3 separate regions of the Homo sapiens genome follow, and regions 1 and 3 are each linked to region 2. Evidence: promoter capture Hi-C in 16 types of primary human blood cells and fetal thymus (Javierre and others, 2016). All regions are on one chromosome and are shown on one strand. The core of a region is centred on a gene start or on the middle of the fragment in contact, and the rest is flanking DNA. Distances in the headings are between cores, read along the strand shown. Region 1 has its middle 34 kb from the start of SERPINB7. Region 2 holds the start of SERPINB5 (serpin family B member 5). Region 3 has its middle 54 kb from the start of SERPINB7.

Region 1 (3,593 bases), core at 336-2,835, 330 kb after region 2:
ACTTTTCTCTCACTTTTAAAGTTGTGAAGATATTCTATGTTTTCATCTATAAATGCCAGTTTTCTACCTAAAACACAGATCAGATCAAGTTCATATTCTTATAAAACACTGACAGCTCTTCACCCTCTCAGGATAGAGTCTAAACTTTCTAATACGACATTCAAAGCCTTCCCACAAGGTTACTCTACCTTCCTTTTCCTATTTGTTTTGCCACTCTCTGCCAAAGACTCTAACCTGAGGTAACTTGTACTATTTGGAAACCAAATCCACTACTCTCACATTGTTTAGCTTGTCCCATCTGACTGGGATGCTCTCTCTATCTTTGTTTGATAAGACTCATTTAATTGTTCAAGAAACTGGCCATGTTCATGTTCTCTGTGTAGCTTTTCACTCAGCTGGACTCAAAGAACACATTGTGCATCCTTGTATGAGAGCTGTGTTCAGATTTCTTGCTATGTGTTGTTTGTGTGTGTGCACGTCTATATGCGTATGTATGTGCATGTATGTTGTGTGGTGTCTCGCTAGCTAACAAACTCTTTAAGGACAGAAAATGGCATATGGTAGGTATCCCTTTCAAATGTCAAATGAAAAAACTCCCTTAGAGTCCTAAGAAAGGAACAAAGTCAGAGTACAAGTGCAGACTGTATCCAGCCCTAATTCCCACCTCCACCAGGGGCTCCTGAGAACTTTCTATGTTCTGCTAGTCATATGCCAAAGCCCATATGAAGGCACAATCTTGATCTCTAAGGTGGGCGAAGGAGCACTACTGGATCTTCTGTTATTAGAGGGGTAGGAGGAAGTGTGTTTCATTCATCTCTCAATGCCCAGGCGAAGCATTACTGTCATCATCTTCACAATCATTTTCTTCATTGCCATTCCTGCTTCATCACTTACAAAACAATTTCCCAGGCTTCATCTCAATTGTCAGTACAGTTGTGTGAAGTGGGAGTTATTATGATTATTATTGTTATTTCTATTTCATAAGAAAAATAATGTTCAGAGAGGAGAGGCAATTTCCCAGGATCATGTGTGCTGTTTCCCTCATAACATGCTGTTGTGGACTTCATTACAAATCTTACTTATGCCTCAGCTGTGCTCAGAGTCCTCTCATTTCATGCCCCAGAATGTCACATGGCTCACTTCTTCCCTGGCATTCGTACTGACTGATCAAGCATCGTTGATGACCTCAGATTTTCTTGGAACACCGCACCTCTTACAAATTTGGACAAGTCCATAATGGCTATGTGTTCTCGTGTTTGGGTAGTTTAGACATTTAGGTGATTTCCCTTGGCTTGATATTATTTATAATAATCTTCCTGAGAGTTTCTATAACAGGAATAATATTGTAAACTCTCCAAATAATAAACTCTTAAGTATAAACTCACTGAGAGAAGAGACAGCTTCTGCTCCCTTTGTAATCTCTGGCACATTGTAGACAACTTCACTGACTGATTGATGCTACTTATCCAGGGAAAGGCAGTATATGTATCTTTAATCATTTGGACATTTCTTGACACTAATGTTTCATTTCTATTCCTGCAGACAAAACTAGAATGTGTGAAAACCCATGGCTAGAATAGTATTTATAAACCTAAACCTCCTGTTAGATATCATCAGCACCTTCAAAAGAGAAAGCCACAGAAGTCTTACCTAATAAAACAGGTAACAGCCTGGTTAACAAAACTTAATTGCATAGTTGGACATTCCTTGTTACTCTTTGTTCCTTGCCTATAGCATTGTGAACCAAAACAAGAATACCACTGTCCTTGAAATATAAGAATACTTTAGTGAAACTAAAGTGACTAAACCTTTACAAATAGTTTGACTCTTAATGAATGTTGTATAATTTAAACAAAGCAAAATAACATAACTCTATATTATCAGTTCATTGAGAAGAAAGAAAAAGTGATCCGAATGGAAAGGGAAGTGTGGATGGAGCAGAAATTCTTTCTAGATATTTTAAAAACAATCTATTTTACATTATACCATTCTCCCACCCCATGGTTGTGCCTCTTCAGACAATACTCTTCAGTGTGACTAAGAGTCTTAGTCTTAGGCTAGAAGGAGTGGTCACAATTTCCACAGGCATAGCAGGGAAATAAATGTGATGAGTGAGGGCAGATGAGCTATGGACATGTGAAGCAGGGGTTTCTACACTATTCCCGAAGTTTGGGAAGACTTCCTGGAGGAAGGGATGCTGTGGCTCAGATGTGGAACAATGAGTAGGAGTAGGAGGAATGGGAGGAGAAGGAGAGAGGGTTCCAGTGGGTGCAACAGCATGATCCAGGGCCCACAGTGAGAGAATACAGTCTCCTCGGATTCCTGCAAGGATGTAGAGGGCATAAGCGCAGTGAAAGGTGGGTTGGGGAGGGGCAGTAGGCAGGCCACAGAGGGCCTTGGACAGTAGGATGAAGAGTTTGCTTTGGTTCTAAGATGACTGCAAAGGCATTGAAGGGCTCTAAGGAGAGGAGTGAACCTCTCTGCTTTGAATTTCTGAAGGGTTGTGTTTGCTGATTTGTGGGCATGGGGCTAGAGTGTTACGAGACTTGACAGGGAGAAATGGACAGTGGTCCAGGTGAGAAGCGATGGTGGCCTAACCTAGAAGATGGGTCTTGGGAATGCGCATAGTGAATGAAGGTGACAGATTTGGGAGGCAGCCTGACTGGTCAGGACTCTGTGAACGACTGGATGAATGTGGCAGTAAAAGGGGAGGACTTCTCAAGATTCAACTTCACAATCTTTAAACAACTGTAACATCACCAGCCAGAGCAGAGGGGAGGGGAAGACAGAAGAAGGGGAGAAGCTGGATGGCAGGGGCATCCCTGTAAGGCCACTGGAGCTGTTATTGTAACGGTTCTTTACTTTTGAACTAAGCACTCCTTTTGAAAATCAGATTTAGGGGTATCCAAAAATGCACACGAAAGAATTTAGGTATATAATTTTAAGAAGTTCAAAGAGCTCCTGAATCCCATTCATAGATTCCCTAGGTTACAAATCCCTGTCACTTATACCTAAATTAGGGCATACCGGATGGGAACCATCCATCGTAGCACAAAGAAAGTGAAGTGTAAGAGCCATGGACCACTAGATAGATGCACTTTCTATGGGACTAGGGCTCTAGGATGATCTGTGCCTTTAAACATCCTGCACAATAGGCAGGGATGCACCACCTCACTCGTAACTATTAATTAGAGTCTTTATAGACAATAGACTTTATAGGCAAGAGAAACCGGTAAATGTTTCATTAAAGATAATACCATAGATGTCATTGACCACACCCAGCCACCTCTTTGCAAATAACCTCTGGTTCTGTGACTAGACATTTAGTGAATATTAACCTTTTAAAAAGTATCTGTTCCTTGGGTCTATCAGAGAACAGTGTCTCTAGAGGCATCAGGGTCTTTGAGAAGTTGATAGCATTTATTCTTTCATTATGAATTCCTTTTTTTTCCCTCTTTGTCCTTGAATCCAAATCCTCCTTAAGACTGTAGATGAGAGAAGTCAGGTTCTTCAAACTGCTGGACTGATTCAAGGTGTGTTTCTTTGAGCCTAGAGACGATTTTAATAGTTGTTTTATAGTTCATCTCTCTCCA
Region 2 (3,782 bases), core at 1,196-3,695:
TTTGTCAATGATGTTACACCTGAGACTTGTGAGTCCTTGCCTTACTTGGGTTCAATGAGAGGGTGAGAACATTCACGTACAGGGTCTGACCTCCAGAGATACTTCAACAAGTGAAAGCTTTTGACAGGAAATGTTCTGTTTAATCTTTTGTTAACATATCTGTCCAATATACCTTGTATCATCCCAGCTCTGGACCTCCGTTCTCAGGCTTAAATGGTCTCCTGATGTCCAATGATGCTGCCTCCATGATCCTTCCCCAGTCATAGCCAGACTGAAAAGGTCACACCCATCTCTGAACTACTTTTGTCATTTGCACCTCTCTTAAGTCCCTTATTACATGCCTCCAGATACTTTCTTTTGTTTCTTGTCTTCCTACTGTACCCTTTGGGGAGAGGGAACATGTCTTATAGCCCCAGTCGAATGGTGCCTCTAATTTTCACCCAGTTAGAATCACCCAAAGGCATTTCACTTTGCTAGAACTTCCTTGGGTATTGTTGAATTCCTGTCATTGGAAATGTTTCTGCCCCGGTTGAGCAAGCACTGAACAGGAGTGTTTTAGAGGGAATTAAAACTTCAAAAAGGAGAATAGAGAGGCTCTACCATTTAAATGCAAGTCGCTTGAAATCTGTAGACCACAGTAGCAAGCACGAAGCAGGTATTCAATAAATGTGGTGAATTCAATGTCAATAACATGCTCCAGTCTTTTGTCCACTATTCCCCGAGCCTACCTAACCAATGGGCAAAGTGGTACTAATTGCCATCATTAGGAAGCACATGCTATGTGTCAGAAAGTATGTAAGAATTGTCTCTTCATCCATCTCTGTCTATATCTCATTTTATCGATCTTATTGACAAATGAGAACTATATATAGATCTCATTTTACAGATGAGGAATCTGAAGATAAAGGGATTAAGCAATTTGCTCAGGATTTCTCAAGCAATGAGTGGTTAGACTTAGTTTGCAAATTTATGACTCTGCTCCCAAATTCTCATTTTCCCTCCTACAGCTGGATAATAGAATTTTTAAGAAGCATCCTTCCACACCTCCTCACCTATGACCTTCCCTCCACTTGCTCCACTGATGCCTAAAATTCTGTTTTTGGAGTTCACTTAGTTTATGACTTTGATTCTGGTTAACATTAAAATACCCAGGACATGGGGGAGGGGAAGCTGTTATCAATCTTAGTTTAGTCAGTTAATATAGCGAGTTGCTCTTATTCATTACTCAACAAGCACTTATTGACTGCATACTGTACATCAGGTCTGTACCAAGCTTTGGTGTTATAAAAATGAATGAAGTTTGGCACTTACCTTTAACATTGTTGTAGTCACATATAGGAGAATGTAAGAGATTATTATGAAACAATGTAGTAAATGTACAATAGGGAATTCTAGATAAGCACAGCAGAGAAGCAACCAGCTCCGTTTCAGGTCCTTTCCTGAGACTGATTCGGCTGGAAGGGAGTAGGTCCCGCCAAATGAAGAAGCTGTGGGAAGACAGGAGGACAAGAACAGGCTCCACGAAGAGATTTCAGAGCAGAGCTGCGTACTCCTTTTTCTTTTTGTTTCTTTTGCTCTGTCACCCAGGCTGAAGTACAGTGGTTAGCTCACGGCTCACTGCAGCTTTGACCTCCCAGGCTCAAGTGATCCTCTCGTCTCAGCTTTCCAAGTAACTGGGACCACAGGCATGCATCACCACACTAGGCTATTGTTTTACATTTTTTGTAGAGATGGGGTCTCACCATGTTGCCCAGGTTGGTCTCAAACTCCTGGGCTCAAGCAATCCGCTCACGTCAACCTCCCCAAATGCTGGGATTACAGGCGTGAGCCACCGCGCCAGGCCTGAGTAATCCTAATCACAGGATTTTAAAAAGAAACTTCCTGCGCCACCCATTAAACAATATCTCCTACCAATTTGGTAGTAAATATTTTGCTAATAGTACCTAATTTTTAGGTAGGCACTGTGTTTATACATATATCCATTCCTTCTTTTTTGATTGTCTTTCTGTTTAATGGGCAGCTACCTCTCTTGGCATCTAGCAGAATGAGCTGCTGCAGTTTACACAAAAAGAATGGAGATCAGAGTACTTTTTGTGCCACCAACGTGTCTGAGAAATTTGTAGTGTTACTATCATCACACATTACTTTTATTTCATCGAATATTTCACCTTCCGGTCCTGCGTGGGCCGAGAGGATTGCCGTACGCATGTCTGTACGTATGCATGTAACTCACAGCCCCTTCCTGCCCGAACATGTTGGAGGCCTTTTGGAAGCTGTGCAGACAACAGTAACTTCAGCCTGAATCATTTCTTTCAATTGTGGACAAGCTGCCAAGAGGCTTGAGTAGGAGAGGAGTGCCGCCGAGGCGGGGCGGGGCGGGGCGTGGAGCTGGGCTGGCAGTGGGCGTGGCGGTGCTGCCCAGGTGAGCCACCGCTGCTTCTGCCCAGACACGGTCGCCTCCACATCCAGGTCTTTGTGCTCCTCGCTTGCCTGTTCCTTTTCCACGCATTTTCCAGGATAACTGTGACTCCAGGTAAGCAAGGTGGGGTAGCAGGGCTGGTGACTTCCTTTTTTCAGGGAAATTCATAAATATCGTTATTTGAGCTGATTTGAGATGGTGAACAAAATGGACTTAGGTCCATTTTGGGGCTGTTTTCAAAGACGGGCTGTTGGGTTGAGTACTGTCGCCTCTCATCCCCCATGTTGGCAGTATTTCCAGCTCCCAACCCTTTGAGCACCAGGAACACTGCAGAGGGAGTAAAATCACTTAACCATACAAGGTAAGAATATGAAGAAGTCACGTGGCTCGGAGGTTTTGGTGGTAGAGGGGTGCAACCGTGATTCACGGAGGAGAAAATACTTCTGAGGACATTTTCAGGCCTACTTTGGAACTCAGAATGAATTTTGCAATGCTAGTTTCAGAAAGGGTGTGGTACCCGCAAACTGGGGAAAGTTGAGAAGTATTGGTGGGTCTGGCTGGCTCTTCTCCCTGGCTGACGTTGTAAGGCTGAGATTTAGGCATATGGACTGCCCTTCTTTTTGGCATTTTTAAGCATCAGATCGCTGTTCATCTACTTGCAACTGCATTCTTCTAAGCGGAAATTATTCTCCCTTCAGTTTTCTGGGTTTCAGCATAACTTTAAACAAGTTACACATTTCAGATGCATATTCTTGGACTTATAAATTGTAATAGCTGCTTGTAGTTTCTTACTCATATGCTGTACACTTTTTCTTATGGCTTCATTTAAGCATATCATACTAAAAACCAACATGCCAGGCTATTCCAGAGACTTGTAACCAGATCCTCAGAGCTGGGGGCTCTTAGACATATTTCAGCCCAGCCCCCTCATTCTGTAGATGAGGAGCAGAACTCACAGAGGTGATCTGGTGTCCAAAGGCACACAGCTTGTAAGTAGCACCGCTGAGATCAAATCAGGCCTTCACACTTGCAGCTCGGGATGTTTCCACAACACCGTGGGTTCTGTTACCATCTTTTTCATCCCCTACATCTCCCGGGAGGTTTTCGATAATGGGTTCCAAACCTCAGTCCCTGTCAGTTAGTGTAAGTGTTCGATGAGTTCCTTCATGGGTGGAGATGAAGCCTGTCTGAGGAAAGGAGTCTCCAAAGGAAATGAGTCAGCAGGTTTATATCTTTGCTTCCTAACGCCTTGAATTGTGCCACTTCAATCCCTCTGGGTTGTGGATTGACTTTGGGGCTATGCAGTCTCAGCGATTTGGGCCATTCTGGTGTGGCTGAGTCTGGCTGTAAGTTTACTGCTTGG
Region 3 (3,392 bases), core at 7-2,506, 350 kb after region 2:
TCACGATAGTGAGTTCTCATGAAATCTGATCATTTAAAAGTGAGTAGAACCTCCCCCATCTCTCTCTCTTGCTTCTGCTCCTGCCATGTGAGACGCCTCACTCCCTCTTTGTCTTCTGCCATGACTGGAAGATTCCTGAGGCCTCCCTAGAAGCAGAAGCCACTGTGCTTCCTGTACAGCCTTCAGAACTGTAAGCCAATTAATCTCTTTTCTTTATAAATTACCCAGTCTCAGGTATTTCTTTAGCTATTATGAATAATGCTGCTGTGAATATTCCTGTAAAAGGCTTTTTGAGTACATATTCTTTCACTCCTGTTAAATAAATATCTACTAGTGGAATTGCTGGGTCATAGGGTACATGCAAATGTACATGTAAGAAAATATGCTAGATTTTCTCAGAAGATTTTGTCTTTTATTTTACATTTGAGTTTTTGCTCCATGTCATTATTATTAGTCAAGGATTTTACTGAAGGTAGAAAAACAAAGACACATTAACAGTATAACATTTATTAACAGTATGACAAGAAAATTTCATCCACAATTTTGCATGTTTCTATAAAATAGATAAATAGGCTATACACTCACTTTCTTTTCTTCTGCATCTTCCACATTCCTTGTCCATTATATAATTGGGAATGCTTTACATATTTGCTCAAAAGTCTTGTTTTTGGTTCATATGAAGATATCTGGTGTTAATTATATATGCCAGTTAAAAATAGATCTAAAGTCAAAACAAAACCAGTGAAAATAATTCATATTCAATTGTTGATTAAGTATGGTCTTGCTTTGTTTCACTTCCCACGGGTGAAATCTAGGATCTCTTATCACCCCACAGCCTCATATCTCCCAATCAGCTGGTGTTGGTTAATGCCATCTCCTTCAGAGAGAACCAGAAAAATGCACTTCAGAAAGACCAAACAAAAGCAATGGCTTTCACGTTGGATGAGGTGGTCTCATGTAGTCTCATGGCTTAATTTGTTTATCTCTTAAAAGTAATCCTCAAAATTTTTGTCCTTAAGAACTGCTAAATTATTTCTGGCCTTAGGGAAGCAAATTAATTTCCAAGTGGCTATCCTAGCTACATTTGCAATAAAAAGCAGATTTTGATTTATAAAATATTTATTTTTTTGTTGAACCTTTCTTTAAAATTTTCCACTGTTTTTTACCCTGTATAAAAATAGAAATTCTATTTTAGCAATGCAGTTGTACAATTGAAAAATGCTATGAAATATAGACTTTGAAAGTATTTAAAATAAGTCTTGGTTAAGACCACTTAAACTATTATCAAGCCACTTACCTCTTGCTAACTGGAAATAAGGTCAGGCAATAGAAAATAACAGCAAGAGACAACTGAGGAACTAACAGGCAAATCACTTCTTTTAAAATTATACTTTAAGTTCTGGGATACATGTGCAGAATGTGCAGGTTTGCTACCTAGGTATACATGTGCCATGGTGGTTTGCTGCACCAGGCAGGTCACTTCTAAAATGAGTTTGATCTCCCTACAAAGCCAAGCTGAACTGGTGAACAAAATGCACAGTCAAGGTGGAAGGTTCTAGGCTTACTGCCCTTCTACTTAGCACCCTCAGCCTTCCCAACTTTTCTAAGTGTCAAAAATGTCCCAAATATCAGGCCACAACCAAAATAAGACATGTTATTTAACAAGAAAGAATTGATCTGTATATAATAACTAAGCCACTGTGCTATCAAATGCATTTATTCCAGCCCACCAAGGAATGCTTGAAATTACAAGTAAATTTAAAATTTGTTCTTGTCAACTGTAAGAATAGACTTTCTATTTCTGAATAAATACTTTTCATATAAAATAAGTAGTAAATTAAGGAGAAACATAAACCTCTAGCCAAACACATTAGTCATATCTGGAAGTATGTAGTAATGCCCTTACAAAGAATATTACCATCACATTCACATTTTGAGGTTATAAAATGAACAATAAATTATATAGATGTTATGGCTGTGATTTTTGAAAATACAGATTCTAGGGCCACCTTCCTGGGGACTCTGATTTGCATGATGAACTTGAGTATACATATTTTCAAAGAGCCCCTTAGGTCCTTCCAAGGATCAGCCCGGTTGGGGAATCACAGTATGTAGAAAATGGGCTATTTTAGCAGGATTCATAAAGAGATGCTCAAAGGGGTAAGCATACCCCACAGCAAATAGATTTGCTAGAGAAAGCAGCTAACAAAACAGAATATTTTATTTCACAGAAAAATCTCATCCATTTGGCTTATATACACAATGCAGGTGTATATACCTGTTAACTAGCATTTCAAAGATAAAAACATAAAGTATCATTATGGTCATAACAAAATTTCCTTAAAGTAGTCCAATTATGAGAGCTCACCTAGTGCTTTGTCACATTCTTAGCTATTTTGTAACTCCAGAAATTATCAGAATCAGCTCAATGCTGCTGACTAGTTAAGATTAGTCAGATTTTACTCGAGCTGGAGAGACTTCTAAATTATGCTCTTGAAAGGACCTATTTGTCCTTTAAAAATGGTTATCCTGGTAAGATCTTATGGTGTGGGTATTTCCCAGCCCTTTGAAGTGAATTAACTGCATCTGGAAGTCAAAAAAGTACACCTGAATGAAATTAATATATTGGGGAACTTGAATACTTTGGACTTTAGTAGCAGCTTTGTTTAGGTTCCTCCCCTCTTTATGTCATCAAAATAACGTTCAATCGTAGGTATTTCTAAAGACGGATGGATGGTTTTCTTTTGCCACCAACTGTAGGCAATTTTGGAGGATGAAAATAAACATAAATTTTCTATGTCCTAAATAGCAAAAGAAAGAGATTGGCTTTATTATTTCACTGTTTTTACTTTTGTAGTCTCAGAGCAGACCTGTGGAGATGATACATGCTCCATTTAGCTTTAAAAGGAGGCTCCATTAAGGACCCTCCTTTACAAGTGCTTGAGATGCCCAACGTGGAGGATCACCTGAGTGTGGTCATTGTCCTACCCAGCAAAGACATCCACTTGGAACAGATAAACCACTGAGCCTCCGCAGCTGTAGTTACAAGAGAAAGGCTCTGTGCTTGAGAATGACACATGCAGAAAGCTTGAGGTTAAAGTAACCGCATACACTCCTACTTCCTGTGGTGTCCTGTCCATTTACAAAAATAAGCAGAACCCCCAAATAAAGTAAATGCCCACATATTAGAATTTGTTGCTTGTACTTTTTAAAGTTTAGGTGTTCAAAACATAGTCATGTGCTTTTCTCTTTTGGTCCTCACAGGTTTTTGTTGTTGTTCTACATGCATTTTTGACATGTTACGTATTGGCATCTCCTTCGGACCTGTTGCCAACCAACTGAATCTATTTCCATCAACACTCAAGGCTGCAACATGCAGATGCAATGCTCAT

What was found. Contacts are between HindIII fragments. The CHiCAGO score rates a contact against its expected background, and 5 or more counts as called.
Region 1: a fragment that was not itself captured here is called in contact with the fragment with the promoter of SERPINB5 in region 2 in 1 of 17 cell types (M1 macrophages); the score reaches 6.1 in M1 macrophages.
Region 3: a contact is called between a fragment that was not itself captured here and the fragment with the promoter of SERPINB5 in region 2, in 4 of 17 cell types (M2 macrophages, M1 macrophages, endothelial precursors and 1 more). The highest score is 7.1, in M2 macrophages.

The regions. Positions count from the first base shown.
Region 1 is chr18:63,807,152-63,810,744 of GRCh38, forward strand. No RefSeq gene overlaps it. Among named protein-coding and RNA genes, the nearest start is that of SERPINB7, 34 kb to the left of the region's middle. The HindIII fragment of the contact is 4,848 bases long and covers 1-3,593 here.
Region 2 is chr18:63,474,513-63,478,294 of GRCh38, forward strand. It overlaps SERPINB5 (serpin family B member 5), which reads left to right and starts at 2,446. Exons shown (of 7, transcript NM_002639.5): 1 at 2,446-2,533. RefSeq lists an enhancer at 1,195-2,394. The HindIII fragment of the contact is 5,766 bases long and covers 1,272-3,782 here.
Region 3 is chr18:63,828,208-63,831,599 of GRCh38, forward strand. No RefSeq gene overlaps it. Among named protein-coding and RNA genes, the nearest start is that of SERPINB7, 54 kb to the left of the region's middle. The HindIII fragment of the contact is 3,657 bases long and covers 1-3,085 here.